Linked DNA regions of Homo sapiens: regions 1 and 2 are each linked to region 3. The links are contacts of gene promoters, found by promoter capture Hi-C in human tissues and cell types (Jung and others, 2019). All regions are on one chromosome and are shown on one strand. The core of a region is centred on a gene start or on the middle of the fragment in contact, and the rest is flanking DNA. Distances in the headings are between cores, read along the strand shown.

Evidence for each region. The method cuts DNA at HindIII sites, captures the fragments that hold promoters and counts their contacts. A contact is called where the count stands out against the background at its distance.
Region 1: a fragment that was not itself captured here is called in contact with the fragment with the promoter of MPDZ in region 3 in 2 of the 25 tissues and cell types used here (dorsolateral prefrontal cortex and hippocampus).
Region 2: a fragment that was not itself captured here is called in contact with the fragment with the promoter of MPDZ in region 3 in 2 of the 25 tissues and cell types used here (dorsolateral prefrontal cortex and hippocampus).

What each region holds. Positions count from the first base shown.
Region 1 is chr9:13,579,406-13,584,322 of GRCh38, forward strand. No RefSeq gene overlaps it. Among named protein-coding and RNA genes, the nearest start is that of LINC01235, 150 kb to the left of the region's middle. The HindIII fragment of the contact is 3,308 bases long and covers 428-3,735 here.
Region 2 is chr9:13,558,769-13,563,003 of GRCh38, forward strand. No RefSeq gene overlaps it. Among named protein-coding and RNA genes, the nearest start is that of LINC01235, 130 kb to the left of the region's middle. The HindIII fragment of the contact is 4,985 bases long and covers 64-4,235 here.
Region 3 is chr9:13,276,808-13,281,147 of GRCh38, forward strand. It overlaps MPDZ (multiple PDZ domain crumbs cell polarity complex component), which reads right to left and starts at 2,885. Exons shown (of 47, transcript NM_001378778.1): 1 at 2,593-2,885. RefSeq lists enhancers at 361-1,076, 1,077-1,792, 1,793-2,508. The HindIII fragment of the contact is 5,465 bases long and covers 1-4,340 here.

The DNA of each region.
Region 1 (4,917 bases), core at 832-3,331, 300 kb after region 3:
GTGGAAGTTATAGTGAGCCGAGATCACGCCGCTGCACTCCAGCCTGGGCGACAGAGACAGAGCTTGTCTCAAAAAAAAAAAAAAATAAAAAAAAAAAAGAAAAAGAAAAAAAGAAAATTGTTGAAGAAATTGAAGAATTATTCCTTCCCATTATAATGCACTTAGTAAGGAGCATGAATAAGCCAAACAAAGAATTAAAAAAATTTGCAGATCTATTTTTTAGAAAGCCTGGCTAAAAAGTCAGGATTCAAAAATAATAAATGACTTGGAAGAAATTATTTAGAATTTTGAACACATCTGAAACACAGATGAATTTCTATAGGTGGAAGACCTTATGTATGATTAATACAAAAAATTATGTCAGAGACCTGGCAAGGTAGCTCAGCGTGTAACCTCAGCAGTTTGGGAGGCTGAGGCAGGCAGATCACTTAAGGCCAGGAGTTCGAGACCAGCCTGGTCAACATGGTGAAACCCGTTCATACTTAAAAAAAAAAAAAAAAATAGCCAGGTGTGATGGCATACCTGTAATCTCAGCCACTTGGGAGCCTTAGGCACAAGAGTCGCTTGAACACCGGAGGTAGAGGTTGCAGTGAGCCGAGATTGTGCCACTGCACTCCAGCCTGGGTGACAGAGTGAGACCCTGTCTCAAACAAAACACAAAACAACAACAACAACAATTATATCAGGATAAAAAAAGGAATAAAGTCAAGCTAGTCTTTGGTTGATTTATAATGTAATGTTGCAGAAAACGGTATACTATTCAATTTGGAACTGAGACAAGAAAATTCAGTGCTGGGAACTGAGTCTAGATTTTCCGAAAAATGTAAAGAAAGAAGAGCTAATTCAAAACAAGAGCAATAGAGTGATTGTATCATTTGGAGACTAATGTACCTGGAAGACAGCATGAACACTATGATCAAAGGTTTGGTTAAACAATGATTGAAGTAACAAATTATTAACAGCCATGATAAACAGAAAGGGAAAGTTAAAATGAAATAAATCTGAAAAGACAAACTGAAGAAAGTTAAAGAAACGTCTGTGATGATTACTATATGAAAACAAAATGGTGAAATGGCTCAGAGTCATAGATATGCTTCCAACTATGAATTGGAATCCTGAAATTTTGAGTTTAAAGAAAACATAAAATGATAATTGTGATTATTATATGTGTTTATCAAAAAATGAGTTGAACCAATCAATGCACACGTATCTCTTTAAATTCAGGTGTAAGTGTTTGTCCACTTAAACTGAACATTTTTTATAGTTTTTGTTCGGTCAAAGAACACAAGCAATAGGAAATGCCTAATATATTCTTTTTCTTTTTTTTCTCTTTTTTTGTGATAGTTGAAGAGATACTAATCTAATGAAAATGAATCTGATCTAGAGTCTTCGGAAAATATTTATGAGGAACTATATCATATTACTCTAATTTCAACACCAAGCTTGTCAATACTGCTTGATAATGCTTAGAGGGCCCAACACTGCCCTTTCTCCAGCCATGCCCCTCTCCCAACGCAGGGCATCTGAGAGTCAAGGGCTGTTCTCACCTGGAATATGCCACCAAGACCTGCCACCGGAGGAGGCCGAGGAGCAGGGGTTACAGTGTGTGTGAAGGAAGGTAGTAAACAGAGCTTGGAAGTACTGAGTAGAGCGTCTGCTGGTGCATGAGGCCCCTCATGTTGCAGGATGGAGCCCTGAATAGAATGGGGGTTCAGGTCCACTCTCTTATGCCACCATGTTCCTCTGCAGAACTCTAATGAATCCAGTACTTTGAAATGTGAACCTGGTAATCCAGATTATTACATAGTTCGTTTGTTTAAGGCTGGAAGATAGAACATAATTTAAACATTGTTAACTTGGTTAACATATTTGAAATATTTGGACATATAGTATGTGGTCTTACCCTGGGCCTGCAAAGTTTTAGAGGCAGGCCTGTGTCTTGGCCCCTCTCAGGCTATGTGAGGTTCCAGAAAGCAGAGACTATCTTGTATTTTTCCAGTGTCTTTTACCATATCTGACAAGATACTCCATGCGTGTTTGGGAAATCAAAAAGAAATGAAATAGGAAAATGCAGGGACAGATGAGATGAACATAGGTAGAAGGTGAAGCAAATATTTCCAGCAGTTAGAATTATTATCAATCTGCCACATTTCCTTGACTTTCCTACCACAGGAGAGATATTCAGGAACGTTATTCCAGACTCAGAACTCAGCCCCTGATGAACAACAGGTCACCATGGCTGTACCTGGTGTTTTACAACCTTGCAGCCTGTTTTCTACACTGCCCAGGTCCCTGTGAAACTTCACTTTGCACGTGGTCAGAATCTCAAGGAAAAGGCAGTTTGAGGTCCCCCTAGCTGTTTTTTCCCCCTCAAGGAAATCAACAGAGCTGCCAGAACTTTTAACTTCATATTTTTTAACGTTGCATATTTCAGGAAAAATTTACGGCTCCTTTTATTACATTTTACAGGACCGTTGATAATATCCTTTCAATGCACAGTTTTTACACCTTACCAAGGAAAATGGACTTTTTTCCATGGCTCCTGTATGAACCTTTGAGTCATTTCTTTCTTTTTCTTTCTTCACAGAAATTCAGTCATTTAAATTCAGTTGCTGTTCTTTTTAATAGAGCCACGCTTAGTTTCATCACTCTGTAAGGCACTCACAATATGCACATCAGATTAATGTGAATACATTACACAATTCAGAAAAAAATTTTGCTTCTTCATCTTGAATTTACCCTAGGAAACAATGATATATTTTTCTTTCTCTCTTACTATTTGTGTATGTTACCACATCTCAGCAAAGGGTGAACTTGGGTTGGGCTCATTAATGTAGTAATAATTATTAGCAATTTAATGAACTAGGAACATATTTACTTTTTTGTTGTTAATTATAATCCTGTGTTTAGGAAGCTGATACTTTTTTTGTTTCTTACGGTAATTCTATAATAGTTGGCTGTCAGAGAGGATGTTTTAAAAATCCCTTTATATATAGTTACATTCTTACAAGATTTGCTTGAGCTAAGAAATAATTACTCTTCTTGACCAGCCACCCAAAAGACATCCAGTTCACAAATTTTCCTTGAATCTGTTTGCCAGCTATATAGGTGTGGGGAAACTATGTAAGCTCTCTGAGCTTCAGTTTCCATATTTTAAATGAAGTTGTCCCAAAATATAAGATGGGCATTAGAGATGTCATTTCCTGTGCTGGCACGCAGTGTGGTCCCCTTCACCAACTACCTTCACTTCTCCCTAGCCATATGCTCTGCCCCACGATAGACATTACTCTGACTTGAATTAGGCACTAAAGTTGAAGAAGCAAGCTTCAACTTTTTTTGAATTTTATTTCTGAATTGACTCTCTTGCAGCTGGTTGGATTCTTCAGTTACGAGGTCTGATAGATAAGTGGTTTTTCTTTTGGTATATATTTATCATTTTATTTCCTGCTTTTGTCAAAAAGAAGAAAGACATTTCTTTCTTCTCTACAGCAGATGGTAATAGCAATTAGACGCAGTTATAATCCCGACCCTCAATAGCCGTCAAGTCCCACTGTGTAGCGGAACTGGATGGAAAATGATCTGGATGTTGCAGTCGGCGTGCACTTGCCCAAAGCAATCCCACCTATCAAACACAAATTCACCAGGTGCCTGCCCCCAAAGTTGACCTGGCAGAACACAGAGAAAGAAATATTGTAATACGATGTCTTCTCTTTGTTCTATCCATTTCAATAAATTATAATGTGTAGATACTATCCATCCCCCTTATTACTACTTAAAATTTTCCTGATATCTGACTTTACCAATAACACCAACATTTTCTGCCAAAAGACTTTCTGATTATCAGTTTATCTGGAAATAACATATCAGAATGTATCCTCTTTTGTTTGTGAAAATTCCTCATTATAGTAAGATGATGTTATAGGCATTATCTAGGTCTGGTTTGAGCGTCTGCTAATGTTAATTCCAAATTATTTTATTTTGTATTGATTACAAACAAAAAAGAGTGTAATGTTTTTTCTGGTTTTATACATAATATTTTGGTAACTTTCGTTTAACCATATACTTAATATTGATTGAATAGAAGAATAAGACAGTTCTTTTCTATCTCTCCACTTCTATACATGCTGTCAGTAGACAGGGAGGAAGCTTCTATTCTATGCGTTATTGTACAGTTATTTTTTTTAAAAAATGGGGTTTCATCTTTTTCCTATGTAATCATCATCTTCACATATCTTACTAATTAAATGGCTAATTTGTCTAAATTGATTTCTCAAATCTTCCTAGGTCTTTTTGCCACAACAAGGGAATACATTTGAGTTTTTCCATCTTTTTTTTTTCCACAGCTTTATTTAGGTATAATTGAAAAAAAAATTGTATATATTTAAGGTGTACAATGATGTTTGAATGTATGTGTATATATTTTCCATTATTTTTTCTTTTTTTGTGTGGTGAGAACGATTAAGATATACCCCCTTAAGACATTTCCAATATACTATATGGTTTTGTTAACCATACTCACCACACTGCACATTAGATCAAGAGAAAGTATTCATCTTGCATAACTGACACTTTGCACCCTTTGATCAACCTCTCCTGGCAACCACTCTTCTGCTCTCTTTCTATGAGTTTGGCTATTTTAGATTCCACCTATAAGTGAAATAATGTAGTATTTGTCTATGACTGGCTTATTTCACTTAGCATAACATTCTCAAGTTTCATCCATGTTGTCACAAATGGCAAGATTTTCTTCTTTTTTTAGGTCTAATGGTATTCCATGGTATATCTAGATATATATCACATTTTCATTATCCATTCATCTGTGGCTGGACATTAGATTGTTTCCATATCTTGGCTATTGTGAATAATGTTGCAATGAACATGGGAGTGCATATATCTCTTCGACAGACTTATTTCGTC
Region 2 (4,235 bases), core at 1,306-3,805, 280 kb after region 3:
TCTGGTCTTAAATACAAATAAATACTATAGACAAAGAGACAGAGCCAAATAATAAGTGGATGGTCCTTCCTCTCTGTTTTATATCTCTTGTATGATTATTTGAGATTCTTTGTGCTCATTTCTACAGACCCTGTGGCTGCCTGATGTTGTGCCCATTGACTGTCCTGTCCCTTATTCTGGTGCCAGTTCATGTCTTGTCCAGACCTAATTCTTCAGGGGTGAGCTGGACAGTGAACAAAGAACAAGAGAGATAGGAAGAGCTTCTTCCCTTCTCTGTCTACCACTGCATTTGACTTAACTAATATTTCCAGCTAACAGGGAAAGTCAGTTTTTCCACGAAAAATGACAAGTGTCCTGAATGAATAGGATCTTTCTAGGAGAAACCGAGATCTAGAAGAGAAATATCTCTGAGAGATAATGCATGGGGAGGAGACATAACTTCTGCAAGCTGGGGAAATAGCTTCCCTTGCTCCTGGATAAAAGGAGGAGTGGTCAGTCTTTTCAAGTCCAAATTGGCACACAGTATTTATAATCTGAAAGTTTATGTTCCTTACAAATTCATGTTGAAATCCGAACCTCCAAGGTGATGGTATTAGGTGATGGGGCTTTTGGGAAGTAGGTCATGAGGACTGTCCCCTCATTGCGGGAAATAAGACTTAGTCCCTAACAGGCTTTTGTATTTCCATTTAAATAAGGTCACCACTAAGAATATGATTTCCGTATGATTCTTACAAACCATTAATCAGCAAAAGGTGTAAATGGAATTATATTTGGCACAAATAGAAAATGACTTATGTAAAACCAAATTAGAATCATATTTACTAAATAATAAAGTAAATCTGCATTTTGAAAAATGAATAGTACAGCAATTCCAGGTATTATATTAAGCATTTTAACAAGGAAGCTTATGCAAAGAATATTAGTAAAGCTGTGACCGCAAATTTCTTTTTTTCCTGTTAGGTATGAACCAAATACTAAAACTCTACTAACAACTAGATAGTAGTTTTAACTCGTTTGAAGACACAGTTGAAGATATTAAGTAACAGGTGGAAGGACTGATTAATCTCTGCTGAATAAACACTCTAATATGTTGTATTTGTACATACTGGTATAAATGAAAAATTGTGAACTTTGGAGCCAAGACATACCTAAGTTTTATCCTATATGACTTTGGGATAATTTACTGAATGTCTCTGAAACTCAGTTACAATCTAAAAAATGGGATAATAAAAACTAAGAAGACAATTGTCAAGAGGATTAAATGTGTACAGCCTGCCATAATGTAAAGCACCTGGTAGGTTCAATAAATATTAGCTTTCCTTCTCTCAGTCTTTATTTGCTCTCTTTTTCAGTCACCCCACTTTTACAATACCCCAGACAAGATGGAACAGCTGATTTCTAACTAAATAAAAACTACAGTAAAATCCTAACAGAATCTGTTGAAAATAACACTTCCACTTGTGTATGATGATATTAATACCTTAAGATAATCATTACAGTCCATTTGTTGAGAAATACTCATTTGCTCATGGGCTGATCAGACTTGCCCGAGCTCAGGGAAAAGACAAATTCCTCCTTCTATTTAGCATGTTAATCTGTGAATATACAAAAATAAATGAGAATTTTAGAAAGGTATTTTTCTCTATTTCCTTAAAATTAGTTTCACTGTGAAAAATGAAATGGTTTTAAAGCTTAGTACAAATAGTGAGAAAAGTTTTATAAATCATTCAAAGGACCTTTTAACTCTAAAAATTATTATTTTGGCATTCAGTATGCTGACTCAATTGACAAGTATAGAGGCTGAAATGTGGGGTGTTTGCTATTGTGAAATAGTTATTTTTTTAGAGTGCAGGTGAAATTAGAAAAAGTGGAAAAGGTGTGTGTATGTGTGTGTGTTTTAATTCTTCAGATTTTAATGCAAATAGATTGGAGGGGTAGATAGGCACGCTGGGATAAACAAAGTAGTTGACACCTATGTCAAAGGGGTAATTTCTTCATCCATTGACACATATGTGAGCATTGCTTTCGGATATATGAAAAGGAGAAAGAGAACTGTTGATATTAATTTGAACAAAATGCATCTGGGTATGTGAATGTGTATGCACACATGCACGTGTGTGAAGAGCAAGAAAGACAGACAAAAATAGTCTTCTCCTCCTCTTCGCAGCAGACGTGGGTCTCTTTTCTGCATATGTCTTGGATAACCTCATCTATTCTTATATGTGAACTATTTTGCTAATAGATTCATACTGTAATGCAAAGTAAATCTCATCATCTCTGTTTGCTAGACATACTTTTACCTCAAACTCAATATGCCTAAAGTAGAAGGCTTTGTCCCACATCTTCCCTGCCCACCAAACAAACTAGTCCTGACATTAAAAATTCAGAGATTTGGAGCTGGAAGGAAATTTCAGTTTATGTATCCTGACCTCCCAGAAACCACCATGTAATGCCACCCATAGTAATCTGTGAGTTGGTCATCTAACTACATTTTCAAAGCTGAGGAGCTCATTACTTGACCAGATAATCTATTACATGAAAAAGGAAGATATTATCTTGCAAGACAACCCTTTTCATACACACGTATATTTATCTATATATATGTATGTATGTCTATAAGTGATTAAGAGAATAGTACACAGATTGTTGTCTACTACATGTCAGATAAACTATTAGTCTTAAATCCCAGCTCTGCTCCTTACGTACTAGATACAATCTTTGTCCTGTTACCTAACTTCTTTATGCTTTGATTTGCTTATTTGTAAAATTAGATTAACAACACTGTGGCGGGGCTTTTGTGAGGAGGAAATAATACATAGAAAATCCTTAGCATGGTGTCTGGCCCATAGTAAGTGCTAAGTAACTTATTATCATTGATATTATTATGACATATTTTATACATACAGAAAGGTAAAAGCATTACAGTAGTTTTTCTTGTCTGTAGGGGATAAGTTCCAAGACTGCCTGTGAATACTTGAAATCATTGATAGTACTGAGCTCTATATATACAATACTATGTTTTTTTGAGCTGATAACCTAGATGGCTACTAAGTAACTAATGGGCAGGTAGCATATAGGGTGCACAGGGACAAAGAGATGATTCACATCGCAGGCAGGTCTGTGCCGTATTTCATCATGCTACTCAGAACAGCACACAATGTAAATCTTATAAATTGTTTATTTCTGTAATTTTCCATTTAATATTATTGGACCATGGTTGACCACAAGTAACTGAGACCACAGAAAGTGAAAGGGGGGACTACAGTATGTAATTAGTACCCATGTCCCTACCACTCATAGTAAGAAATAAAGTATTAACTAATATAATTCAAGTCCCTGTCTATCTCTCTCTGGCCCTACTTTTTTTTTTTTTCCTAAAGGTTAACCTCTACTTAAATTTGGTATTCACCCTTCCTATGGATCTATTACTAAGTTTGTTAAATCAATAAATATCTATAAGCAATGCATAGTACTGCGTTACATGCTTCCTAACTTCATATGAATGGTATAACACGTTGTGTTTTCCTTTGCCACTTGCTCTTACTATTCAGCAATACATTTGTGAGATTTATCAATGTGGATAAAAGCTAGTTCTAGCTCACTCATTTTCACAGCTGTACTTTATTACATTGTATAGATATATCACACTTTATGCAGTTTTCTCTTATAAGTCATTGAGTTGACATCAACGTTTTTGCCAATATAAACAATGCCGCAAGGGTATTTAAACATGGGATGGCGAACAACCGATCTCTCAAGTTGATTTGAAATTTGCCTCCATGCAATCTCCATGCATTGTTTCTAACTCTTCCCTGTGAATATATACTGAGTTCTCATATTTCTTGTATATTTAGGTCTTGCAACTGTGATTTTAAAATGAGCTTATTTTATATAAAAAACTCTCACCGATCCCAGTTTTATTTAATACCTTTTGAAATTGTGCAACTAGTGCATGTGTGTCATAAAAATCATCACAACAATCTACAAGGGCATAAATGTAAGCGGTAGTAACTATCTGCCGCTTGCTAGTGATTACTGCCTGTTAGAGTTTGGCAAGCATGTTTCCAGTCTTTTCCTATGCTCATATCCATACCTTCAAACATGTACGTGTTACTATCTCAGTCTGTTTGCATTGCTATAAAGGAATACCTGAGACTGGGTAATTTGTAAAGACAAGAGGTTTATTCAGCTCAGGGTTCTGCAGGCTTTACAAGAAGCATGGTACCACCTCACCA
Region 3 (4,340 bases), core at 1,635-4,134:
ATCTGGAGAAAATAATCTACCTCTAAGTGAGGATAGTTACCTTCCAGGCAATTCATTGTTCCTCTCCAGCTTTTAAATCCCTTAATCTCAATTCTAGACAATGGATTCACTTGATCATTTGTCAAGCAAAATCTCTCCACCCTAGCAGTTAAAAACTAAAAGTGGCCAACTAGACCTAAATCCATGTAAAGTTACATATCAAGGATTTCCAAGAGTCTCTCTGAATAGCTTCAACTTGTAGAAATATACTAAACTCTGAGACCAGCCTCTATTCCTCACAGTTAGGTACATTTAAATGCATCTGAAAAGGAAAGATGTCTTTAAGGGTCAAGCAGAGCAATGTCTAGGTGATAGGACTTTGAAGCACACTAAAAATTGACTAAAGATCCCTCCCTTTCCAAGCCACAACCTTCAGGCCTAGTCAATAAAAAGGAGTGTGGTAAAGGGACAAAGAAAACCAGAACTAGAGAAGGTAAGTGAAAAGAATAAACACAGAAAGGATCAAAGGAAAAAAAAAGGAACATATGTAAGAAATAAGGTACACCATAATCTATTAGTAATATGTTGAGAATAATCTTCATTAGTTTGTTTGTTTTGGCAAATGAGATAGGGAAGAAGAACGGAGAGTCAAGGGGTACCCAAAACTAGTTTTGCCTACATTGCACACAAGGGTACAGGTGCCTCCATCCAAAGCTTAGTATTGTATTAGAAGATCAAGTCAAGGAACGTTTTGCTAGGCTTTTATTTTTATTTTTTATTTATTTACTTATTTATTGAGTCAGAGTCTCGCTCTGTCACCCAGGCCGGAGTGCAGTGGCGCGATCTCGGCTCAATGCAACCGCTGCCTCCCGGGTTCAAGCGATTCTCCTGCCCCAGCCTCCCTAGTATCTGAGACTACAGGTGCGAGCCATCACGCTCCGCTAATGTTTGTATTTTTAGTAGAGACAGGGTTTCACCATGTTGGCCAGCCTGGTCTTGAACTCCTGACCTTAAGTGATCCACCCACCTCGGTCTCCCAAAGTGCTGGGATTACAAGCGTGAGCCATTGCGCCTGGCCAAGTTTTGCTAGGTTTTTAAAACACTATTGTTTGCCAAAATTCCATCAGGTGCTAAGGCATACATTATACAAATTTAGATAGTTCCAACATTACAAGATGTTCATTGTAATCACTCATACCCAAATTCAACATGTAAAACTCCCAAGCCCGAAACCATCACCTCCTCCTCGTTAGTTTTCAGATAAGGTGTTATTTATTCTATAAAGGGTAACCTAAACCAGGAATTTCTAGGGAAACACGAAGGGGATGTTTACATCAAACTGTCTACAAGGCAGGACGAGGCAGTCTGATCACTTATCAGATTCCTTCTCTATGACATCAAGGAACATGGAGAAGTTTTCCTTCTACGCTGGTGAAGTCATGGTCCTCTTATCTATCTGATGATACCTAGGAAACACTAGCCTCCAACCGCAGCCCCTACTGCAAAAAGGCAGTCAGTGCCCATTGCCGGGGTCTTCCCAAGCGGAGCACCTCAAAAGCCGCACCGCGCAGTAGAGGTCTCCAGGGGCCCCCACTCGCCCCCAGTGACTACGGAGCGGCCTCTACCTCCCGCCGGCGCCTGGCCACTTCTCCTCCCCCGCAGTCTCCGCTTGATTTCCATGTGACTGCAGGCAAGAATAGCCCAGCCTTTGTGCCTCTGCAAAGAACGCAAACAAAAATGTACACCATCACCACCCAACAAACGCGCAACTCCGCAAGACACAAAGCGTCTCCCAAACATCGCTTCCCTGGTAACATCCGGCATCCTGGGGCTGCCAAATCGCAGACAAAGACGCCCATCAGCGCGGGGGGTGAGGAGACTAAGGGAGAGACAAGACCAACGTGCTCCCACCAACGGGAGCGGCGGTTAAAAGGGCGCCGGTGCCAGGGGTGAGGGACGGGGCACCGGTACCAATTAGCGGCTCGCCTCGGGGTCCCCGCGGCTAAGGCGAGAACGCAGGACCAGGAGCATTGCTGCCCACTCTCTACCGCAACCCGCACATCCCGGGACCACGTAACGGCGGATGGGGCGTCCGGGAGCGGCCCCTGCAGGGGAGAGCAACAGGCTCCCGCGCCCTGGAGGCCTGGTCTGCGCTCCGGGCCCCCAGGCTAACACCCCACCCCCAGCCCCCCGACACCAAGACTGTGCCCCTCTGGGTCAAGGAAAAGGAAAAACTTTTAAACCTCTTAGTCAGCGAGAGCAAAAGAAAGGGGTGGCGGGGGTGCTGAAAGGTCTAGGATTATCCACCGCGGGGCTGGGGGGAGTGGAGACTTGCGAGTAGCAAAGGAAACTTCTAGACCCCATCCTTTTAAAAAAGCCACAGCAGCGGCTTCCGCGAAGCGCCGGGCCGCGCGGGGTGGGGCAAGCGCACCGCCCCACCGCCCCACGGCCCGCCGCCACCCCTACCCCCACCCCCACCCCCACCCCCATCCCCGCCCCCACCCCCACCCCCAAGCGCCGAGCCCAGGGCGCCCGCGCACCTTCCCCGCCGGCGCGCGCGCAGGGCGCGGGGGCGCGCCTCGGCCTCTGGGCCGGGGCTCAAGCGCCGCTTACCCGGCTCGCGGCGCCCGCCCAGGGCCGCGACGCGAGGGGGCGGAGGACTGGGGAGCAGGGGTCGCCGGGGCCTCTGGATGCCTCGCCTCGCCCACGCTCACTGTCTTCTCTTCTGAAGTAACGACCCGGCGAGGAGCTTCGGATCAAAACGCACAGACACTCACGCGTGACTGAGAAACTTAATCCCGCGGTGGCCCGACGCCAGCCTAGCGCTCCGCCGCGCCCCCTCCCCCAGCGCGCGCCGCACTTGCGCCGACCGGGGCTGCCGCGGAGGCGGTGGCGGGGCCCAGGCTGCTGGGGCTGCCGTGACGCCTGCGACCGGCGGGGCGGCGGGCGCGCCTTGGCCAATCAGGGGACGCGGCCGAGCAGGCCTGTGCGGGGTTTTAAACTCGCTCCTGGGCCGCTCGACCTGGGGTGTGGGTAGTGGACTTGTGAGGTGGTCAGATAAAATATAGGCTGCTCTGTTAAATGGGAATTTCAAATAAAAAAAAAAAGGAATAATTTTAGTACAAGTATATCCCATGCAATATTTGGGACGTACTTATGCTAAAAAGTTCTTCGTTGTTTATCGGAAATTCAAATTTAATGGCAGTCTTGTATTTTTATCTGCCGATTTTGTCAACCTGCGGAAACTGATAGCCTGTTTCTAGCTCCTCAGATTTTCCTTATGTGCACTGCCCTGTGGATGCTTTCTGCATGGGTAGCTTACTGAATGGCATAGGATGCTTATGAGAAGCGCTTTAATCAGAAGGGTGGGGGCAGTCCTCTCACTTTCTAAGTAACTTTTCGCACATCAGGGTGCATTCTTAGTCTGATGATCCAATTAAAAAGCAAAAACAGTAAACATGGAAAAGTTATTAGAGTTGCATGGCCCCAGGAAGAACAGATATTCATTTCTATTTTGTGCCACTTAAGATTTTCTTTCTGTTATCCTCAATTTGGAAGTCCCACGAATTTTTTTCTGCATAAGAAACTCTTTTTCAAAATATCCCTCTGATATTAGATTATAGGACCAAAGGATACTCAGAAGTCCAATTTAGAACATTTAAAAGAATTTCTTTTAATATTCTGAATAAAAATACTTTTTTCTCATATTCCTTGGACTTTCAAACACATTCACAGCTGTTGACCTCTCTCTTCCTAGAGTCCTCCCCACCCCACCCCTCTTGTAATTCCATGCAATCACACTCTTGGTTTTGCTTCTTCCGCTTAGTCAAGGGCGGATGTATGGGCTCTGAAGCTTGTACAATTGGGAGCTCTGCTTTAACCAAAAAAAAAAAAAAAATCTTTCTTTAGAAAAATTCAAAAAATAAATGCCCATGTAAACACATTGCTAGGGTTGCTCCCAGGCAAGAGAAGGACCCGGAACGTTAAGCTACATCAATTTCCAGGTAGATCTGCCCCTGTCCCCAGGCCACTCTTCAGTCTTCTTTGCCTCCTCTCCCCCAATCTTTAGATGCTGGAATTCCTTAAAAATCAGTTACGGGCCCTCTTTTCCTTTTAACTCTTACCTCTAAATACATTTTCACTTCTAGCTTATGATCTCGTACCTACAGAATCTTACATTTATACCTTCAGATTTATCCATATATTCAAGTGTTTATTTGGCTTCCCTGTTTGCTTGTCTCAAACCTAGATTGCAAAAAAAAATGCAGCCGTGATACTTCTGCTCAAGCCTGGTCATCTTGTTCAGTGTCCCAGTGAATGGAACTGCCATAGATGCTACATGATTCCCACAAACTACGATA